4 separate regions of the Homo sapiens genome follow, and all the other regions are linked to region 4. The links are contacts of gene promoters, found by promoter capture Hi-C in human tissues and cell types (Jung and others, 2019). All regions are on one chromosome and are shown on one strand. Each heading gives the region's core, a stretch centred on a gene start or on the middle of the fragment in contact. The rest is flanking DNA. Distances are from core to core; before and after follow the strand shown. Region 1 overlaps ST8SIA2 (ST8 alpha-N-acetyl-neuraminide alpha-2,8-sialyltransferase 2). Region 2 has its middle 36 kb from the start of ST8SIA2. Region 3 has its middle 62 kb from the start of ST8SIA2. Region 4 holds the start of ST8SIA2 (ST8 alpha-N-acetyl-neuraminide alpha-2,8-sialyltransferase 2).

Region 1 (2,700 bases), core at 44-2,543, 50 kb after region 4:
TCCTATCTGCTTACAATGTTTAGCCACAGTCAAAGATAGCAAGGCCTAGGGGCAGGGATGGGAAGACGCGATATTTTAGGGGGTTCAGTCTGAAATCACAAACAGGCTCTTTGAGTCAAATATACCTGATCTTGACTCCTGGTGGTTCCCTTTCTAGCTCTGGGCCTTTGAGCAAGTTGATTCTCACACACTGGGCCTCCATTTCCTCCTGTGTGACAGGAGGGTGATTAAAACTGGGTCACAAAAAAAAAGAGCTGACCTATGTTAAAGGACCAGTCAGTGCCTGGCACACACCAGGGGCTCAAAAAATATTAGTTTTCTTTCTGATTAACCCACTTTTTCTCCCCAGTTGTTGAAAAAGGAAAGTCCTTGCTTAAAGGGAGGATAAATGGTACGTTCCTGGATTTCTTCGTTTGATGATGACCTGTGATCCCTTGTCTTCATGTCTCCAGCCTCTATTTTTACACTCTTAACTGGATTTCTCAGACTTATTTTCACTGGTCAAAGGGCTTTTCCACCATTAAATCCTCTGTGCCAGACAGCAGCCAGACCTCCCCTGCAGTGCCCTCTGCTGCCATCCCAGTCCTAGGCACAGGCAGGAAACCCAGGTGTGCACACCCAGGCCGGGTCTCCCACAAGGAAGTCATCAGGTTAAATAGCAGAGGCTGCTCACCCAGGCAGCCTGATTGTCAGCATGAGTTTGCAGTGGCCTCTTAGTTTGCCCTCCAGTACCCAAATCCATCCCCTCCAATCCATACTGCAACTTCATCTCATTGCTTTCTAATCGTGGCCAAAAATTCTAAACCGTCCCTGTCACTCTCCTGCTCCAGAACCCTCAGTGGCTCCCTATTGCCCCCAGAACCAAGTCCCTGGCACACAGGTCCTTTGATATCTCACTCTGCTTGCCTCCCCAAGCCCATCTCCTCCACACAATATGCTCCAGTCGGACCAGATCACTTGCCTTTCCCTAAACACCCATGCTGTTTCTCACCTCTCTGCCCTTGGATGCCTTTCTTGTGCCTACAGTGCTCTAGCATGGTATTCCTAACCTGCTTGGCTATAACACTACCTGAAGAGAAAGAGCTTGTGAAAAATAGGTATCGATGCTTAGGCTCACCTGCTGAATCAGAATCTCCAGCCGAGGAACCCGGGAATCTATATTTTTAACGAGCGCCTGGGGTGATTCTTCTGACTTGGCAAACTGGAGAAGCACTCTTTTCGTGTACCTTGTCCACTAACAGACTTCTGCTTAGTGGTCACCACCTCAGGGAAGTCCACCTGACACTCCTCCTTCCCATAAGAGCGATGACAACAGTTAGCATTTATCAAGCTCTTATTATATCCAGTAGTGTTCTAAGTACTGGGCATATAGCAATTCTTTTAATCCTTGGGAGGGATGCTGTTGTGATCTCTATCAAAGCTAAAGTAATGGAAGGTCTCAGGAAGCACAGAGAGGTTGAGCAAGTTTCCCAGACTCACACAGGTAGAAAGTGTCCAAGCCAGTTTAGAGCCTGGGAGTCTGCCTTCAGATCCCTCACTCTGTCACCTAATGGGCCAGATCACTCTTGGCAACAGCATCATCATCTTGTGGACTGAGGACTGGCTTACTTGCTTCTTTCCTCCTCTCCTAGATCCTGAACTCCAGAAGACAGGCATTTACATCCACAGGGTCTAGCAAAGTTCTAGGTACACGATATGAGCTCAGTAAACCTTTGTGGCAGAAAAAGGAGGAGAAAGGATGATGGGAGGGGCCTGTGAGTGTGGAGAGATGCCCTGGGTCTTTGTTTGGGGATGAGAAAGAAGCAAGGAGAGGCAAAGGATGGGATCGAGTTAAACAGAGGAAGGGGTCTCAGCTTTCCCAAAAGGATCATGTTGCCTTTTTCTCCGGCAGGTGCAACCTGGCCCCAGTACAGGAGTATGCCCGGGATGTGGGGCTCAAGACAGACCTGGTAACCATGAACCCCTCGGTCATCCAGCGGGCCTTTGAGGACTTGGTCAATGCCACGTGGCGGGAGAAGCTGCTGCAACGGCTGCACAGCCTCAATGGCAGCATCCTGTGGATCCCTGCCTTCATGGCCCGGGGCGGCAAGGAGCGTGTTGAGTGGGTCAACGAGCTTATCCTGAAGCACCACGTCAACGTGCGCACTGCATACCCCTCGCTGCGCCTGCTGCACGCCGTTCGCGGGTGAGCGGCCTCCCTACAGGCCAGTAGGACCGTCACTAAGTGTGGGAGATTCTTGGTAGGCAGTATCCCTTTCCCAGGTGCATTTCCATCCCAGCTCCACCACTCATTTGCTGGATGGCCTCAGCAAGTCACCTGGCCTTTCTGAGCCTCCATTCCTTGAGAGATGAGGGGGTTTGGCAAGTGGGTTTCATCTGGCATGCCAATTTTGACCAATGGGTAGTGCCTGCCTAGGGAACTGAGTTGAGAATGATCTTGGGGGTGGGGCTGTCTTGAGGCTCAATGGGAACAGACGCCATGAACATGGGAGGAGAGATGGCGGCTGGCAAGTCACATACCATCCCAGGTGTGTGATTTTCAAGAAAATCAGGATCAGATGCACTTGACTTCAAGTAATTCACCTTAATCTCTTTAAACTTTAGTTGCCTCTTCAGGGAAATATGAGTGGGAATGGTAACATTGGAGGATGTGAAGACTAAATGAGATAATGTACGTGAAATGCGTAGTAAAATTGCGGT
Region 2 (2,700 bases), core at 165-2,664, 36 kb before region 4:
TTAGGCACATGTTAATTAGCTCCCAGTGTGGTGTTTGCTGTCACGCTAGGAGCATCCCACGAAGAGCATCAGACGAGTGGTGTTGACTTCCATCAGCAAAGGCCATGCTGAAACCATCTGCTCCGCCCAGAGCTGCCCGTGGGACTCAGGCCACAGCAGCAGGGAGCTTTCTCTAAACAAGAGGGTCAGTGAAGAGGAAAGGCAAAAAGGGAAGTTGTTTCCTCTCGACTATTTTGGTGCCTTTGTTTTGTCAGTGGTTCACACAGAGCCAATAAATTAATTCCCCAAGATGGCAGTAATGATGATGAATTTGGTTTTATGGTTTAACTCTTCGGTAATCTCTGCAGAGGGATGATACAGATCTAGTCTCTACTGAGTGAGAGAGAGATGGCAGATACCTGGTTTGCTAGTCCTTCCTGTTCATTGGTCTATTTGTCTATTTTGAGCTGAAAACAATTAAGAATTTCATATCCACCAGAAAGTAGATTGACTCTTTGAAATCTGGACCAGAAGATTTTGGTGTTTCTGTATTTATTTTTGACTTCTGGCTAAAGTTGTAGCACTGAAGCTACTAACTCTATATGATCATTTGTCTGTAATTGAGAAAGGCCTTGACTTCTCCTTGTAGACGTATGAATTGTTTTCTTATTATGGGATGGTATTAATAAATTAGATTATAATGTTTCTAAAATTACAGGAGGCTCTGTTCTGGTTAGTTTATAAAGATAAACACTTGTATAAATAGAATATTTCTAAAATTTTTAGAAAATAAAACATTGAATTTATACTTTAACATCATAGACTACACTTTTAAAAAATCCTTCTTTCACAAATTGTTCACTCAAACATTTTAAGAAACCAAGTTTACATAATTAAGGTAAATTTTGGAAATCACACTAGGTTAAGAAAAACTGTCTATTCTCTGATTTATGAGTGTTAAGTATAATATAACAGTACACATTATTTTACTTGAGTTTGTTTTCTCAAGGACAAAATAATTATCTGAATCTTCTAAACATGTACAGGTTTACTAATCAAATAAGCTAATAACTACTAATTTACTAAACAAACTCCTACATGATGTTTAAGATTATGAAAATTATAAATTTGTGTTCAACTAAGTTGAATTATTCTGACAAACTTTTCATATCAACAGCAATTATTCTTCAGAGTGAACCAGTTTAGACATAATTTTCAACATCTTTAGTTAAATTAAAACTTAGACAAATATTAAAGTGAATTAATTAATGGATTTTAGAAACCCAGATATCTCCTATTAAATAACATAGAATATGACAACATTGATTACTAAGCATAAAGTTTATGGACTTCTGACTCTTATCTTTACATGCTATACAGCTATATTTTTGGATCATATTAACGAACATGTTCATTTTGAAGTGTAAATGTCTAGATGAAGAAAATTGTATTATGTGTATCACAAGCTTTGTTAGTCTGCTAAAATGCTTCTATATGACAGACAGTTCTCAATTATCTACCCCGAAATTTTCTCTGTGAAATAGAAGTTACTTAAGTTAAAAGTCATAATTAATATGGATGATTAAGACTGTATGTATTAGCCGATTTTCACACTGCTGATAAAGACACACCTGAGGCCGGGCTTAGTGGCTCACTCCTGTAATCCCAGCACTTGGGGAGGCCGAGGCAGGCGGATCATGAGGTCAGGAGATCAAGACCATCCCCGCTAACACACGGTGAAACCCCCTCTCTACTAAAAATACAAAAAATTAGCCGGGGTCGTGGCAGGCACCTGTAGTCCCAGCTACTTGGGAGGCTGAGGCAGGAGAATGGTGTGAACCCGGGAGGCGGGGCTTGCAGTAAACCGCGATTGGGCCACTGCTCTCCAGCCTGGGCGACAGAGCAAGACTCCATCTCAAAATAAATAAATAAATAAATAAATAAATAAATAAAACTAAAAAAAGACATACCTGAGACTGGGCAATTTACAGAAGAAAGAGGTTTAATGAACTTAGAGTTCCACGTGGATAGGGAAGCCTCACAATCATGGCGGAAGGCAAAAGGCACTTCTTAAATGATGGCTGCAAGAGAGAATGAGAGCCAAGCGAAACAGGTTTCCCTTGTAAAACCATCAGATCTCGTGAGACTACCATGAAAACACTACCACGAGAACAGTATGGGAGAAACTGCCACCATGATTCAATTATCTCTGACTGGGTGCCTCCCACAACATTTGGGAATTGTGGGCATACAATTCAAGGTGAGATTTGGGTGGGGACACAGCCAAACCATAACTGTCTACTAGGAACACAAAGAAATGTAAGAGCCTATGTGCTTTTGTTTTTTCAAGCCAATCTGTTCCAGAATATGAAGGTAAATGAAAGACAAAAGATGAGAAGTGAATTTTATTTTCCTTAGTTTATAATGCCTGAATCTAAAAAGAAAATATGAGACATGTCAACATTTTGGCAGAGTTTGCTTCATTTTGAAGGGCGAGTTTTCTTGTTTACTGACCAATATCTTTACCTACAATATGAAAGAATATTCTTTACCTTCTGCGTGATCATCCAAGACATAAAAGATTCAGAATAATTTTGTTATTAGAAGTAATTATCAGTAATTATCAATTATCAATAATTAACAATTTTCTGTGTCTTATGTCAATTTTATTATACTCTTGATTATTGAAAAAGCAAAACAAAACAAAAAAGAACAAAGGTT
Region 3 (2,700 bases), core at 187-2,686, 62 kb before region 4:
AGAGCAAGACTCCATCTCAAAAAAAAAAAAAAAAAAGCAGAAAGCTGGCCTGTGGACCTTACTGAGGCCTGGTCCCTCCCTGCAGGGTCTGGGGAAAGCACCCATAATGGAAGCCACCTTACCTGGGGGCTCTTTGTCATTGCCTCAGGCCTCATGAAGTCACTGCCGATCTCAAAGCCTGGACTTCATTGTGCCTCACCTCGCAAGTTCCAGTGATGTTCACAAGTGCCACATTTAACATCCAACTGTGAGAAAGGGTGGGGGTTGTGGGGGAAGAAGGCCTGTCCTCTGATTACATTATGGTCAAGTCATTTTCAGAAGCTTCATCATTCAAGTGCAAGAAGGAGTGGAATTTTCCAGAGGCCACTTAATTGCACTCTTATAGACTATGGTATTTTAAACATTAATACACTGTAATAAAAGAAACTAGGAGAAATTTGGATTAATCAAAGGCCGGAGCTGGAAGAGAGGAGACATTATGGAGATTGATGGCTTGGATTAGATAATCACAGAGAGATATGCATTCATTCAAGAAAGTAATTTTTAAACTGTGGCCCTAAACCTCTAGGGTCCCAGGGGATGCTGCAGGTCTGCAAGGATTATATAAAAGCTTGGCTCAGAAATTCCATTTATGTAACTATTTCTGAAAAGTCTAATAAAAACGTGCATACTCGAAGGTTACATTTCCAAAAGTTTACTATTATTTGAGATCACTGGTGTTTTCATTTACATGTTAACTGACAAACTTTATGGTAAATATGATAAATATGAACATAGAAAACAAATTTACTTGTGTCAAACACACAGTGTAGGATATCAATATGTGGTCTAAAAAATTCATTTTTTTTTTTACCACTGATCCTGGATTCCTCTTAGGTAGAAAATTGTCTTTATTTGCCCTCCCTCTATGTTTATACTTATTTGATTGTTTTATTAACTAGCACCCTTTTTCCTCATAGCCCATTAGTCACACAGCTGCCATTTGTCCCTCCAGACCCAATCCCCCAATACACTTCTTCACACTTCTTTCTGTCCAAGAGGCAGGCTTCAGTGGCTATATCAATGGCTTTCCTTGCCCTTTGGCTTTCTGTTGGATTGGCCCATGGGGAGCTCTAGCTGGACAAGGAAGAGAGGAGATGAGGTCAAGGTCCCTAGCTAGGTCCCTCAACCATGAAGGCCACTACCACTCTCCTGGAGCAAGAACTCTCTCTTCCCTTTGAATTCCTGTAGTAACTGTTCCCTCCTCCCTCCCTTCAGGCTGCGTTGAAGTAACAGCTCTACTTCCAGTAACTCCAGGTTTCTATACTACCTCTGGGAGTTTCCTTACACCCTCCCACACCTTTGTACATACACTTATCTTGAGTTATCTTCATTTAGGGGTGCCACCTGCTTCCTGCTGGAACTTTCACAGATACACCCCACTCCTGGTTCCCTTCTAATGATGAAAACCATCCCTATGTCATTCTGTGCTTCTGTTTGTACGTATTCTTGCAAAATAGTGTTGTTTTGTATGCATGTATTTCCGTTTTTTAACTGAGCTATAGATTTCTTTTGGCATTTTACCTTTCTCACTAATTACCATTTCTTAAACAGTTCATCCATGTTGCTATGGCTACAACTAATCTGTGGTTTCTAAACTGCTGCACCATACTCCGCTGTGTACACGCACCACATTTGCCTATCCAATCTACAGAAGACAGACAGCCAGGTTGTCTCCAGCTTTCTGGCACCTCAACCAGTGCTGCAGTGAAAAACTTTATATATGCATGTCCCTTGGGGAGCTGTGTAAGGATTTCTTTGGACTGCATAGCAAGGGATAGAATTGCTGAGTCATGCAGTGTGTATCTACTTAATTGAACTCAATTAAGTGAACCAGCTGTACTCTACAGAATGCCCATGTACGTCTGCTCTCCTGGGAGCAGTGCCCAAGGCTTCCCCTCCCTAAGTATCCACCAATATTTGGCATTATCTTTATTTTGTATTTGCCTTTCTTTGATTAGTAATAATTTTGAGCATTTCCTCAGATGCTTTTGATTTCCTCTTTCATAAATTATATGTCCACATCCTTTGACTATTTTTCTATTGAGGTTGCTGTTTTTCTTATTTATCTACAAGGGGTTCCTTGTATATTTTTAATGCACTGTTGGTTTTAGTTTGCTAATATTTTGTGTAGGATTTTGTTTCTACATTAATACATAAAATAAGACTATACATTTCTTTTCTCCTATTGTCCTTATCTGGAGTAACTTTAATAATATAAGAATTGATTGTTTCTTACAAGAATCTGATGACTCTGCACCATGTACACCCTGGTCTAAGTCACTACTATCTCCCACCTGGATTACCAATGAAGGATGGTTCGGTATAGGGGGTACAGAAGAACACTGGGTTTAAGAATGGAGCAGAGCCCAGTCATGAGCCCCTGTGTATGGTGTGATAATTATTTGCTTTTTAAATCTGTCCTCTCCTCCCTATTGGAATCCATTTCCAGTACATGGCTCATGTGTGCCAAAAAACAAAGTGTTTAATTTCATTGGTGAGTAGACCCGTTCTCCTGTTTTCTAGCTATATGATTTGGGAAGAGTCAAGTAACCTCAGTGTTGTATTTTCTATCAACAGAATAATAAAGATAAAACCATACCCCCTACTTGTGATGAGAGTTAAATAGAACAATGTACCTAGGGAGCCCATTCCCACTGA
Region 4 (2,700 bases), core at 164-2,663:
CCTGCAGGGGAGAGCCTGCCCTGGCTCCCAGGGTCAACAAGGGCAGCAGCCCCCGGCTTGGAAGCCTCCCTCCTGCCCCTCCTTACACACGAAGGGGCAGAAGGGCTCTGGGCACAAGCAGTACTTTGGTAGAAAATCAGAAGGCCCTCTTACATCCCCGGGGGCGCCATGAAGGGACTTGGCTGCTGCCAGCCCCTCGCCAAACTCCTCTGAGTGGTCCAGGGGATAAGGCCGACACGCCCCTCCCATTCACTGGGGTGTGGTTTCCAGCACTTAGGACATTCCATGTAGCTTCTCCAACAGGACTCCTCCTCCCCACACTCAAACCCAAAGGACCCTTTCATAAACCAGATGATCATTTCTGGAAAGTTACATTTCTTAATTTCAGGAATTGTTCCAATTCGTGCAAAGAAAATAAAAGGTAATTATCTAATTCCAGTAAAACTTAATGGGGCCCTTCCCACCCCTGGCCAATGGTTGGTGTGAAATGTAATTTGACTTAAACTGTCTAAGGCTGTGAAAGTGTACAATATTCGGAAGGGTGGGGGGCATTACCCCTTGTGGGAGCCATATTTTTCTAGAAGGCATTTTGATCAAGACAGGCCTCCCGCGGTTATTGATCTTAGGGTCATTGAGAGTCCAAGAACTGGGGAGATGAAGGCCACCCGGCGTCAGCACCGCGAGGGCGGAGGGAAGGCGGGCGCTGAGTCTCCCATTGGGGTTCTAGCCGAGGGTTCCAGCCAGGACTGCGTGATCTGGGGGCAGCTCGGAGAGCTCTCCCGACCCAGTATCGGGTCTATAAATGGAGATAAAGATCAGCACCTGGAGGGAGTGGTTTCTCGAGGGCTGAGAGCCTCGCCCACAAACTGTAGTCAGCATCTTCACTGAAGTTGGCCTGTCTTGGATATTTCTTCTCTCCTCCCCTTCCCCCACCTCCCCTCCTAATTCATCAACTGCTGAAACATCTGCCTGGCTGAAACCGCCTTCTCGCCGCGCGCTGGGGGCTGTCCCCAGGTGTTGGTCTTTGTGTCGAGAAAACTTTGCGAGGAGGCGAGGGAGCTGGACAAAGAGCGGGCGAGGGAGGGCGTTTGCCAGCCTGAGGGGTGCGCCGGGCGGTGCGCGCACTTCCCTGGGCTCAGCTCCGTACCCGGTCGCTCGCGGTGGCCAGAGCCCAGTCTCTCTAGGCCAGGAGTGGCGTCCGGCTGCATCCCCGCGCCCTCGGGAGCTGAATAAAGCCAGGCGGGAGAAGCAAAGGCTAGCGCCTGGACGCTGGAGTTGGTGGGAGGAGGCGAGCAGAGGCGCGGAGCAAAGCTGTCAAACTGCGCGCGGAGCCGGGCGCGGGGCGGGGGAAGGGAGAGGAGGGAGGGAGGGGCAGGCGGGAGCCGGGAGGGAGCGAGCGGGCTCGCCGCGCCTGAGCAACCCCTGCCTGTCGCTGCCGCTGCCGCTGCCGCTGCCGCCGCCGGCCCGGACTCGTCCGGAGCGCAGGGTGTCTGCCCAGCTGCGCGCGGCGCGCGGAGGCTCCGGCGTCCGCCGCTGCGCCCTCCGGCCCCTGCTCCTCGCGCCGGCCCGCGTGGGTCCCGGCGGGCGCGAACCCACCATGCAGCTGCAGTTCCGGAGCTGGATGCTGGCCGCGCTCACGCTGCTCGTGGTCTTCCTCATCTTCGCAGACATCTCAGAGATCGAAGAAGAAATCGGGTAAATAGCTGCTCCCAGGCCCGTGCCACGAGCCCTGGCGGGATCTCTCCCTCCTTCTGTACTCTCCACCCTCCGACCCCCTTTGTGTGCGCCGCGCCCCGCTGTAGCTCCGCTGGAGAGATGGGGACGGTTTGGCAGAAGGTGGCGGCGACAGGGGCCCGGGACGGTTTGGGGAGAGGAGGGTGGGGGCGCGGCTGCTGTGGGGTGTCCCCGGGCGGGGTTCACGGGAAGCCCCCAGCTGGCCCGCGTCGGGAAGCGGACTCGCCCACCCTGCCCCCCTGCCTGGCGTGTCCAAGCGCAGTGTCGCCGGGGTCGAGGGAGGGCGCCGGGGAGTGTCTCGGGCGGGCGGAGGGGCCGAGAGTGGAGGGAGGCAGGAGTTTCTTTGTCTCCAGCACGGCCGCTTTCTCGCCTTGGCAAAGTGGGCAGGGGGCGCGCAGGGATCTCTGAGCTGGGGGAGGGGTTCCTGGGGCCGGAGCGGAGGGCGGGGTTCTGCATGGGCTACTGGGAAGCGGAATGTCCCCTGCACACACAGACAGGCACACGCGCCTCCCGCCGGCCCGGGAGCCCGGCGTAGGAGCTGGCACCACTAGAGAAGGGCTCGCATAGCTGGACTGAGACCCCCCGCCCTCGCCTGGCTTTGGACGTTCAGCCAAGCCACGGCAACCCCGGCGACCCTGGGTTCCTGTGCGCTCGCAGCGCGGAGACGGAGACATTTCGGGAAAGTCTGTACCGCCGCCCGGTGGGCTTCTGGGCCCTCAGGCGGGCGATCTGGCGCTTTTTTTCTCCCGACCTCGCCAGAGGTAGGGTGGGACCGCGAGCCCGGATCCTCCCGGCTCCGGACTTCCTGGAGTGCGCACTTGAGGCGCGGGACGCACCGGCTGTGTGTCCCAGGGGCTGAGACTCGCGCCCCGCCCCGCAGCCTTCGGCTCGCCGGGCCGGGCCCCTCTCCGGAACCTCCAAAGGGCGGTAGACGACAGGTGGGGAGGCAGCCGGGGTTCTGAGGAG

What was found. The method cuts DNA at HindIII sites, captures the fragments that hold promoters and counts their contacts. A contact is called where the count stands out against the background at its distance.
Region 1: a fragment that was not itself captured here is called in contact with the fragment with the promoter of ST8SIA2 in region 4 in 1 of the 25 tissues and cell types used here (small bowel).
Region 2: a contact is called between a fragment that was not itself captured here and the fragment with the promoter of ST8SIA2 in region 4, in 2 of the 25 tissues and cell types used here (aorta and mesendoderm cells).
Region 3: a fragment that was not itself captured here is called in contact with the fragment with the promoter of ST8SIA2 in region 4 in 1 of the 25 tissues and cell types used here (aorta).

The regions. Positions count from the first base shown.
Region 1 is chr15:92,442,745-92,445,444 of GRCh38, forward strand. It overlaps ST8SIA2 (ST8 alpha-N-acetyl-neuraminide alpha-2,8-sialyltransferase 2), which reads left to right. Exons shown (of 6, transcript NM_006011.4): 5 at 1,892-2,185. Among named protein-coding and RNA genes, the nearest start is that of C15orf32, 28 kb to the right of the region's middle. The HindIII fragment of the contact is 4,665 bases long and covers 1-2,700 here.
Region 2 is chr15:92,356,373-92,359,072 of GRCh38, forward strand. No RefSeq gene overlaps it. Among named protein-coding and RNA genes, the nearest start is that of ST8SIA2, 36 kb to the right of the region's middle. The HindIII fragment of the contact is 3,846 bases long and covers 1-2,700 here.
Region 3 is chr15:92,330,876-92,333,575 of GRCh38, forward strand. No RefSeq gene overlaps it. Among named protein-coding and RNA genes, the nearest start is that of ST8SIA2, 62 kb to the right of the region's middle. The HindIII fragment of the contact is 5,298 bases long and covers 1-2,700 here.
Region 4 is chr15:92,392,468-92,395,167 of GRCh38, forward strand. It overlaps ST8SIA2 (ST8 alpha-N-acetyl-neuraminide alpha-2,8-sialyltransferase 2), which reads left to right and starts at 1,414. Exons shown (of 6, transcript NM_006011.4): 1 at 1,414-1,695. The coding sequence starts at 1,598. The HindIII fragment of the contact is 17,571 bases long and covers 1-2,700 here.